2 separate regions of the Homo sapiens genome follow, and region 1 is linked to region 2. The links are contacts of gene promoters, found by promoter capture Hi-C in blood cells and fetal thymus (Javierre and others, 2016). All regions are on one chromosome and are shown on one strand. The core of a region is centred on a gene start or on the middle of the fragment in contact, and the rest is flanking DNA. Distances in the headings are between cores, read along the strand shown.

The links. Contacts are between HindIII fragments. The CHiCAGO score rates a contact against its expected background, and 5 or more counts as called.
Region 1: a contact is called between the fragment with the promoter of PCM1 here and the fragment with the promoter of LONRF1 in region 2, in 1 of 17 cell types (total B cells). The highest score is 7.7, in total B cells.

The regions. Positions count from the first base shown.
Region 1 is chr8:17,920,629-17,924,798 of GRCh38, forward strand. PCM1 (pericentriolar material 1) reads left to right here and starts at 2,360. Exons shown (of 39, transcript NM_006197.4): 1 at 2,360-2,560; 2 at 4,085-4,152. LOC124901867 reads right to left here. Exons shown (of 4, transcript XM_047422505.1): 2 at 3,529-3,599; 3 at 2,881-3,138; 4 at 400-2,718. The coding sequence ends at 2,036. RefSeq lists enhancers at 1,728-2,177, 3,328-3,387 and a silencer at 2,572-2,866. The HindIII fragment of the contact is 6,694 bases long and covers 1-4,170 here.
Region 2 is chr8:12,754,207-12,758,531 of GRCh38, forward strand. It overlaps LONRF1 (LON peptidase N-terminal domain and ring finger 1), which reads right to left and starts at 1,320. Exons shown (of 12, transcript NM_152271.5): 1 at 494-1,320. The coding sequence starts at 1,214. RefSeq lists silencers at 1-48, 99-638, 535-725, 729-1,068, 1,149-1,818 and enhancers at 794-1,613, 3,267-3,326. The HindIII fragment of the contact is 11,195 bases long and covers 1-4,325 here.

The DNA.
Region 1 (4,170 bases), core at 1,110-3,609, 5.2 Mb after region 2:
TCCACAGACTGCTGCCCCTAATTTCATCCTACCTATAAATCCTAGAGCTATCATTATCTCTGAGACAAAACATCCCTATTTTAAAAATCTAAATTACCACAGCAATCAGTGTCTACATCATTTGTTTGGCATAGTGACGGACTATTAACACTAAGTCGATTCATTCTGATAAAGTTTGTTTCTAAAAATAGATGTTAAATTTCTGAAAGCCAGGTATAATTTTATCGCTTCTTGTTTTTTTTCTTTCCTTCTTCCCTTACAAAGATCAGTAATGCTCATATTTGAGTTTGAGATCCCCTTTTCAATGTAAATATTTCTCAAATTCCTCTTACCTCCCAACAAACAATAGTATTGACATTCTGGGGCTTCATAAATTCAGAAAACATCATGACTAGTAGATATTATAATTTCATGCTTTTGAATTTATTAGAATTGTTTTAATGATAACAGCTTCTACATTTCAATGTAAATATTTCTCAAATTCCTCCTACCTCCTAATAAACAATAGTATTGACATTCTGGAGCTTCATAAATTCAGAAAACATAATGACTAGTACGTATTATAATTTCACGCTTTTGAATTTATTAGAATTGTTTTAATGATAACAGCTTCTACATACGTTTAATAATAATACATATGTATAAAGCAAAATAATGATGATAGCTAATATTTCGGGCCTCAACATATACTAGTGTTTTTATATGCGTTGTATTTAATTAAAAAAAATCTTAAAGGAATCACATAGACCTCCGTTTAAATTTAGGCTCTACCACTTGCAGCTGCTACAAGTTTGATTTATATAATCTTTCATTGCCAAAACGGGTCAGATTCAGAACCAGCCTCTTCAGGGTAACTGTGAGGATCAAGAAAATCACAACAGCCGAAGTGCTTTACAGTGTGCCTGGCATAAAACAAACTCTGAGAACATTTTTTAAAAAATCCTTTCAAGGTAGGCAGTATCATTCCTTCCCCCTCATTTCATAGATGGGGCAATTAAGGCTCAGAAAGGCACGTCGCTTGTCCAGGATCTTGGAGTGGTGGAATTAGGATAGGGCATTCTGGACTACAATAAACACCTGAGCGTTTAGCTGCTGTGTTCTGAGCTCCCACAGCACTTTTTCTTACAACACAAACTTTATTTACATCACACTCCACTTCCGCATCCTTCACTAAAATATGAGCTCTTCAAGGGCAGGGACTATATTTTTGCTACCGCAGTAGTTAGCGATACACACACAGAATATGAGGAAAAAGTGTCTGACCAACGATCAATGCACTCACGACTGAACCTACGGTGGCAGATTGCAGTGGGATAGAAGAGCTTTATGTGAATTGCGTACTGAGATGCAGACCTACTATTTTGGGAACAATTTGTTTTTGTTGTTGAAACCCAGAATGCAATTCTTCTTTTTACCTTTATTTTGCTTAAAAAGTTATTCCATAATTATAAACTGCGTAAAACTAGAAGAATGCCCTTGCACTCAACTAAAACTGACAGGTGTTTTACCTTTCCAGTCAGGCACATTGAAGGCCTTGTGACTTTATTGATTTTTGTTTTTTAAAGGGAGGACCTGCCAATTTATTAATCTTAATAGAGCTGTAACAGGAGAGTATAAATAAAAAGATAGTTCAGAGAAAATTTACTGAAATTAAGTTTGGATTAAAATCATCTGGCTCTTTTAAGGAAAAGGGACATTAACCAAAAGTGGCGTTAACTATCAACAATATTTATGATTCTCTCACTCAGTAGATACATAATGACGTCTGGCAAATTGTTTAACTTCCGTGGAACAATCCCCTCATATGTAAAATCAGGAGGTTGGACTACATTGTAAGTGTCCTTTTGTTTCCACCTCTTCGTGACCGAATGTGGGGTGAGGAAGGGGCAAAAAAGCGATCCCGGTCTTGGCTCCTTCTTCCGGCACGGGCCGGAGCTGACACCCCCACGGAAAACCGCACAGCGCCTCCGCTCTTTCTCCACGGGCTGAGGGATCAATGCACTTCCGCATAGGCCTAGGGCCCCACGCTCCGCGATCAGCGCCGGAAGCGCACGGCATGCTGGGATTTGTAGTCCTCCACCTGTGGCCGGCAGGCGTTTAGAACGCGAGGTCTAGTTGGCATTCTGGGATACATAGTTCCTGGGCGGGTGGGGGCGGATTCGTTGGTGTAATCTCTTTTCGGCTTAAAGAGCCAGAAGCGACACCACAGACTCCGGCGGGTCACATGACTCCAGTCTAGCTCGCATTGCGGCTCCCGCCCGGGCGAGTTCTCGCCCCCGCGCGGCCGTTGCCGAGGAGACGGCGCATGTCCCGCCGCGCGTTGCCCCCTCTGCAGTACCCCCGCCCCTCTTCTCCCACCACAATGAGATCCTAAGATGGCGGTGGCTGCGGCGGTTGGCGCTGCGTAGCTGAGGTCGAAAAGGCGGCCACTGGGGCCGAGGCAGCCAGGAAACGTGTGGGCCTCTCTGCTGCGGTCTCCGAGGGCCGACCGCTGCCGGCGGCGGGTCGTGGGGGCTGACTGTCGCTCTGCCTTTGACAGGAGAGGCTGCTTCTTGTAGAGGTAATGCCTGCGCGTCCCCAGCCCTTGGCAACCTAGGGCGGCGCGCCCCAGAGGCGGGAGAGTAACGGCTCCGGGACACTCGGCCCTGTTGGGTCTGGCCACGGGCCCACGCCTCCTCTGTAGGTTCCCGGGTCTTCCTGCCCCGGGCTTCCCGTGCCCTAGGCGGTCAGTCCGCCCGCTCCCTCAGGACTGATCGCCGGGATCCCCGGGTGAGCACCTCGCGACGCGTTGGTGATTGCAGGACTCCCTTCTTGCCTCCTCGCCCCTCCTGCTGGCCCTGTCGGGGAGGCTGTTCTGCGTCCCGGTGGCTCCGGCTATACCCCTTGCGGGCGGAGGAAGCGGAGCGGGGACTCTGGTTTGGGTGCTAGGGGCACTGGGTCGAGTTCTTAGAGAAACAGGCCTTGGTGGCCATAGTTCTTCCCCGCGTTCCCTCTGTGGAACTCTCGGTGTCCAGAGTTTGGGGTGTAGAAGGGCGGATGAGGAGCGACGCGACTCTGAAGAGTTGCAGTTGGGCTGTGAGCTGCAGGATTTCCGCCGTCTCTGGTGCTGTGGGAGCCGATGGGCCGGGGGAGGCGTTCCTGGGAAGGTTAATGGAGTAATTATTGCCCCTTCTTTCTCCCTTCCTACCTATCTAGTTAGAATTGGGCCTAGAACCGGGAAAGACTAAATGCCAAGTGGGACTGGGGGAAACGTTGTTTGGTTTACAGAAACTGGCGTTTGGGGATTAGGCCCCGCCAGGGAGGCTGGGCGCGCCAACTTTGCATCCCTCAGCCTACTCCCCAGGAACTCGCCTGGTTTAATTTTTTTTGTTTTGTTTTGTTTTTTTGAGCGAGTTGAGGTCTGTATTGTGTGTCTTACGGGTGACGGTTCGTGTTTGGGCGCTGGAAGGAGCGGGCTTTCTGGGCGCCCCTACCACCCCCGCCCCATAACCGCTTTCCAGACTCCGCCTGCTGGTGTTCTCTGGTTACCGGAGTGGGTGTTGCAGAGCCTCGGGTGCACCTGCTCCTTTCTTTCCCTAGCACCTTCCTGGTGAGGACCCCTGAACACCAATATAATACAGAGTTTTTGAATTGAAGGTAAACCTGGTATTTATGTAGTGACGAGGTTATTTTATTATGAAGTACAGTAGCTTTTAAATGAGCAAACATTTTTAAAATCATCGGATATACGAGGTTGTTACATAGTTTGAGTAACAGGAAGCTCGATCAATCAGAGGAGTAAACTTTGGCATAGACTATTAAAGGATAGTTAGGGCTAACCATCTTTGTTACACTGTTCCGAAATAGATATCACTTTGCTGTTTGGTAAGATTTCAGAAGTTTAGGGGATTTAAGCATTTATGCATATCACACTATTTTCCAAAAGAATTGAGGTAACTTAAATTTAAAATATGAATAAGTTATATTTTTCCCCTTCTTTTGATCTTTCTAAACATACTTTAGACCAAAACTGAAGTATTTTTTATTCTGTATTTCATAGCGTAAGTAATTTACTTAAGTGATACATATTTTTAATCCTAATTAGGAAACAGCTTTGAAGTGTGGAGCGGGAAAGGAGCAGTTTCTGAGCTGCAAAAACTAGTTTCTAAACAGGTAATTTGACATTATTAT
Region 2 (4,325 bases), core at 70-2,569:
GGAAGGGAGACGCCGCCTGCCCGGCCTAGTTGCCCTCGCGGGGGATTCTCTCCCCGCCCCGGCAGTCGTTTCCCCGCGGCGGGCCCGGCCCGAGAGCCAATTCCCGGAAAGCGCGCGGCAGGAAGCGAGCGGCCGCTCGGGATAGCCCAGCTACCACCCATCCCGCGCCGGGGCGGCCTCGGTCCAGGTCACCCACTCCGCGCCGGGAGCGCGCGCCCGACAGCCAGGCCGCGGCCGAGGGAACCCCGCGCCGAGCGCCCCTCCCCGCGCCGCGTCACAGTCGGCTCCCAGGGCGATCCCCATTATGACCGAAGCACCCCGGGGCGCCGCCCCCTCCCACACCCCCCAGCACCCCGAGACCCGACACGCCAGCGGCCCAGCGGCCCCGGGGAAGCAGAGGAGACTCTCGGGGCGCAGACAAGCTCCGGGTCCCCGGCCCTCGGGGCCAGGAGGGTGCGGTCGGCCCGGCCCCGCCGCATCCCCGCGCGGTCACCTGCTCGCAGCGCCTCGCAGGCGGCGGCCAGGGCCTCCCGGTAGCGCCCCTGGTGCAGTAGCTCCCCGAGCCTGCCGGCCGCCCGGGCCCGCTCGCGCTGGCCCGGAAACCACTTCTCGGCCAGGTGGTTGAGGACGACGCTGGTTCTGAAGTCTGAAGCGGCGATGGCGGCGGCCAGAGGCGGCGGCCGCGGGGCGGTCCCTTCAGCATCAGTGGCACTGGCGGTGGCGGGCGGCAGCCGGTCCCGGCAGAGGCGGCAGCGGGCGCGGAGTTCCCTCCGCAGGCAGCGGCGGCAGTAGCTGTGGCCACAGGGCACGGTCACCGGCTCGCTCAGGAAGCCCCGGCAGCCCAGGCATCTGAGGAGCCCGCCGGCGCCGCCGTCAGCGCCTGCAACCGGGGCCGCGCTCCAGCCCAGCCCGTGGCGGAGCCGGTAGTTGAACACCAGGCAGTCCACCAGGGCGCCCAGGCACTCGGGCCTGGCCGGGGCCCCGCGGCGCAGCGCCGCCGCGAACGCCTCCAGCGCGCCCTTCAGGTGGCCGCCCAGCGCCAGCAGCTCCCCGCGGCGGAGCAGCAGCTCCCAGCGCTCCGACTCCGCGGCCGCGCGCTCCAGCCGATGGCCGCTGCCGCCGCCCACTTCCCAGAACCGGCCTCGGCCCTGCGGCGCTGGGGCCATCTCCCGACTCCCTCCTGGGGAGGTCCTCGCCACCGCCGGAGAGGACATGGCCCGCGGAGGGCTGCGCCGCCGCCGCCCGCCGCCACGGTCCCGGAGCCTCCCGGGCGCGCGGCTCCGCACGCGGCCCGCGAGCAGGGGGGCGTGGCGCGCGGACACGGCGGGGCTGCGCGCGCCCGGGAAGCCCCGAGGGCGGGGCCTGGCGAGGGCGGGGCCGGGCTCGGCGACGGCGCCCGGGACTCCCCCACGCCGCCCGCGGCCGCGCTCCCGAGGAGCCAAGCGCTGGGCCCCGCCCCTTCCGAGCCCCCTCCGGGTGGGGGACGCAGGTCGGATGATTCCTCCGTCGGAGATCTAATTGGCTTCTCCGGAAAGGAGGGCTCGGCTCGTGACGGAACAAAGCCGGAAGGACCCCGGAGCTTCAGTCCCCGCTTGCCTGTCTGCCAACGCCGCCACCTGCGGTGGCCCTCGCCCCTGCCGGGGGTTGGGGGACGCTCCCCTGCCGCGCGGGACTCCGGGTCACCACCCCTCCCCCGACGCCCCCGCCCAGGCCGGACCTGCCCCAACTCCTGGCGGGCGGGGGTCTCCCCGCGTGGCCTCGCGCTTGTGCGGGTCTGCATTTTCATAGCTCTACGCCCATGTTCCAGGTGGGCGCGCCCAAGCAGGGGGCCTGGGAGCGCACCTTCGGCAGATGACTGGGACTCTTCGGTTCTAGAGGACTCAACTTTAAATATGAACAAAAAACCCACGTTCCTGGGGCGACTCCCTCCAGAGGGCAAGGAGTTTTTCCTGGTGCCAGGTGACTGCTTGCCCGTCTTGCTTAAAACTCATCGTGGGCCCACCTCGAGGGAGAAAGCCCACAGCTTCCTCAGGTGTCTCCACACCTCAAGCACTGCCTTACAGCTGGTTAAGGTCTATATTTGGCAGTTTTAAAAGAAAACACCAAGAAACATGTTTCACATGGCGGTCACCGTATTACTACAACCCAAGCTGGCTCTGCAGTTTTGCTGACAGAAGAAAATGATCGGGTTGATATATAATGGGTGCTATTTCCCTTAAACTTCACAGCAGCAAGTTTAAAGCTCTCAGCTGAAAATACAGATTTGATGATAGGGTATTAGATCGCTAATGTTGGAAGTCACTTAGGACTTTTAGTCCTTTTTCAAATGATTGGAAACACAGGGAAAGTTATTTGTCAAAAATCACACAGCTAATACAGATTTTAAGATCACGTCTATTCCACTACTACTACGTTAGACTAATATGTAATATTTAATAAAATATGTAATATTTCATAGAAATATATGAGATTTTCAAAGTAAAAGAAGTTGCTAATTGGAAAGTTCACCTGAGCATGCTATGTATGAAATTGGTAAACGTTTAATATTTCTCTTTATAAGGAACAGGCAATTAAGGCTAAAAAATGTTTTGAGTTCATGTGTTTTCACTACACAATCAACAAGTCGTGTAACGTCAGAAAAGACAGAGTTATATTACCCTAAAGGGAATGAATAAAAAAGAGGTGCCTGAGAAAAAGCCAAGCCTCCTGTTCCAACAGGATGCAGACAGAAACAAGTTCATTTATCACTCACATTGCACCTGAAGCAAATTGCAGCTAGATCCAAGGAGCACCTCCTAAGCATTTGGCATGGGAAGCATTGGGATTAAGTCATGAGCATAACCTTAAATCCAATCCTAACCCCTAAATTACTACCTTAACAAGCAGAACAGTGACTTTCAGCTGATGTCCACATACTCCCTTGAGACTTGAAATCACAAACAAATATCCATGTGTACACGCACATTCATTTTTGTAACGCATCCTTGTTCTTAATGGCATGTTGCAAAATTTACAACAGTAAATATGTAATCAATGTGTTCATGTTTATTACAAGGAGCATAGTAAATTAATAAACACTCATAAACTTCTTTTCAAATATAAAGTCAGGTTCTATTATGGGATTTCTGCCAAAAGTACAATATGTGGTTCAGAAAATAATGTGAAGTATTATTTGTCCTTTGGAGTTCCTTTTCCTAATAAATATGACAACCACATCTGATTCTGATGTGAAATAAAATGGCACAATTATGATAATGTGCGGGAGAAAAAAATGGGACCGTAGGAGGAATCTTACCGTGTTCTCCTTGGCATTTGTGAATGGTTATAATTCATGTTTGCTGGTTTATGCATTTACATAACTTGTTCTCATTTATGTAACTTATTTATGTAAGAGGCTGTACTGCCGCTGTGGCCTTTGTGTGCTGCATAACTTCCCTTTGAATCAGGAAGTCTAGGCAAAGCAGTCACTGGCACTGTCACAGGTCACCCTTCCATCATTCTCTGCCATCCAAAAGTTGCACAATAATGTGACTGCTTGTTTAAATTCAAAGGCGAGAAAAATTAGTGTCCTTCTTCGTTCATTTCCTAAAATTTAGACAGGTCTCTGAGTCACCCAGCAGGCTGTGATGGAGAAGAGGGAATCCTGCTAAGCTGCCCCTGGCTAGGAGAAGTATAATGGAGTGAAGAGCTCTCCTTTTCCTTCCGCATTACTTGCTCGTGTCATTCTTTGCTAACAAAGTAGTAAAATCATGAGATTTGTATTCTGTTTCGGTTTTTGAGTGTTGTCTTCTAAAATAGATCAGTTATGTAAGAGAGTCAGAAGAAAAGCGTATCTGTTTCCTAATTTGGAAAATGCTTATCACCATCATTGCCTGCTTATCCCTGCCTCCCACTGCCACACCATAAGACTTTTCCTGATATAGTTTGGTAAACTCCTATTTAAGAGTAACATAACACAGTGCTTTTCTTATATACAACTCAGCTGAAGATGTGTATTTGAACCTCTTTTTTTTTTTTTTTTTTTTTTTTTTTTGCTGTGGGTGAATTTACCATTTGTTTCTTTACATTCTTATTAAAAAAGAAACTGAATTTGTCAGTCCAAGCAAAATATGTCCCATTCCTGATTCATTTCAGTTGATAATGTTCTATTCAAAGAGAGTAAACTATAACGTTTTATATAAACAGTACCTAGCCAATAGATTTTTTTTTTTTGACACAATCTAACTTTGTCACCCAGGCTGCAGTGCATAGTGAGTATATAGCTCACTGCAGCCTTGACCTCCTGGGCTCAAGCAATCTCCCACCTCAGCCTCTCCGAGTAGCTG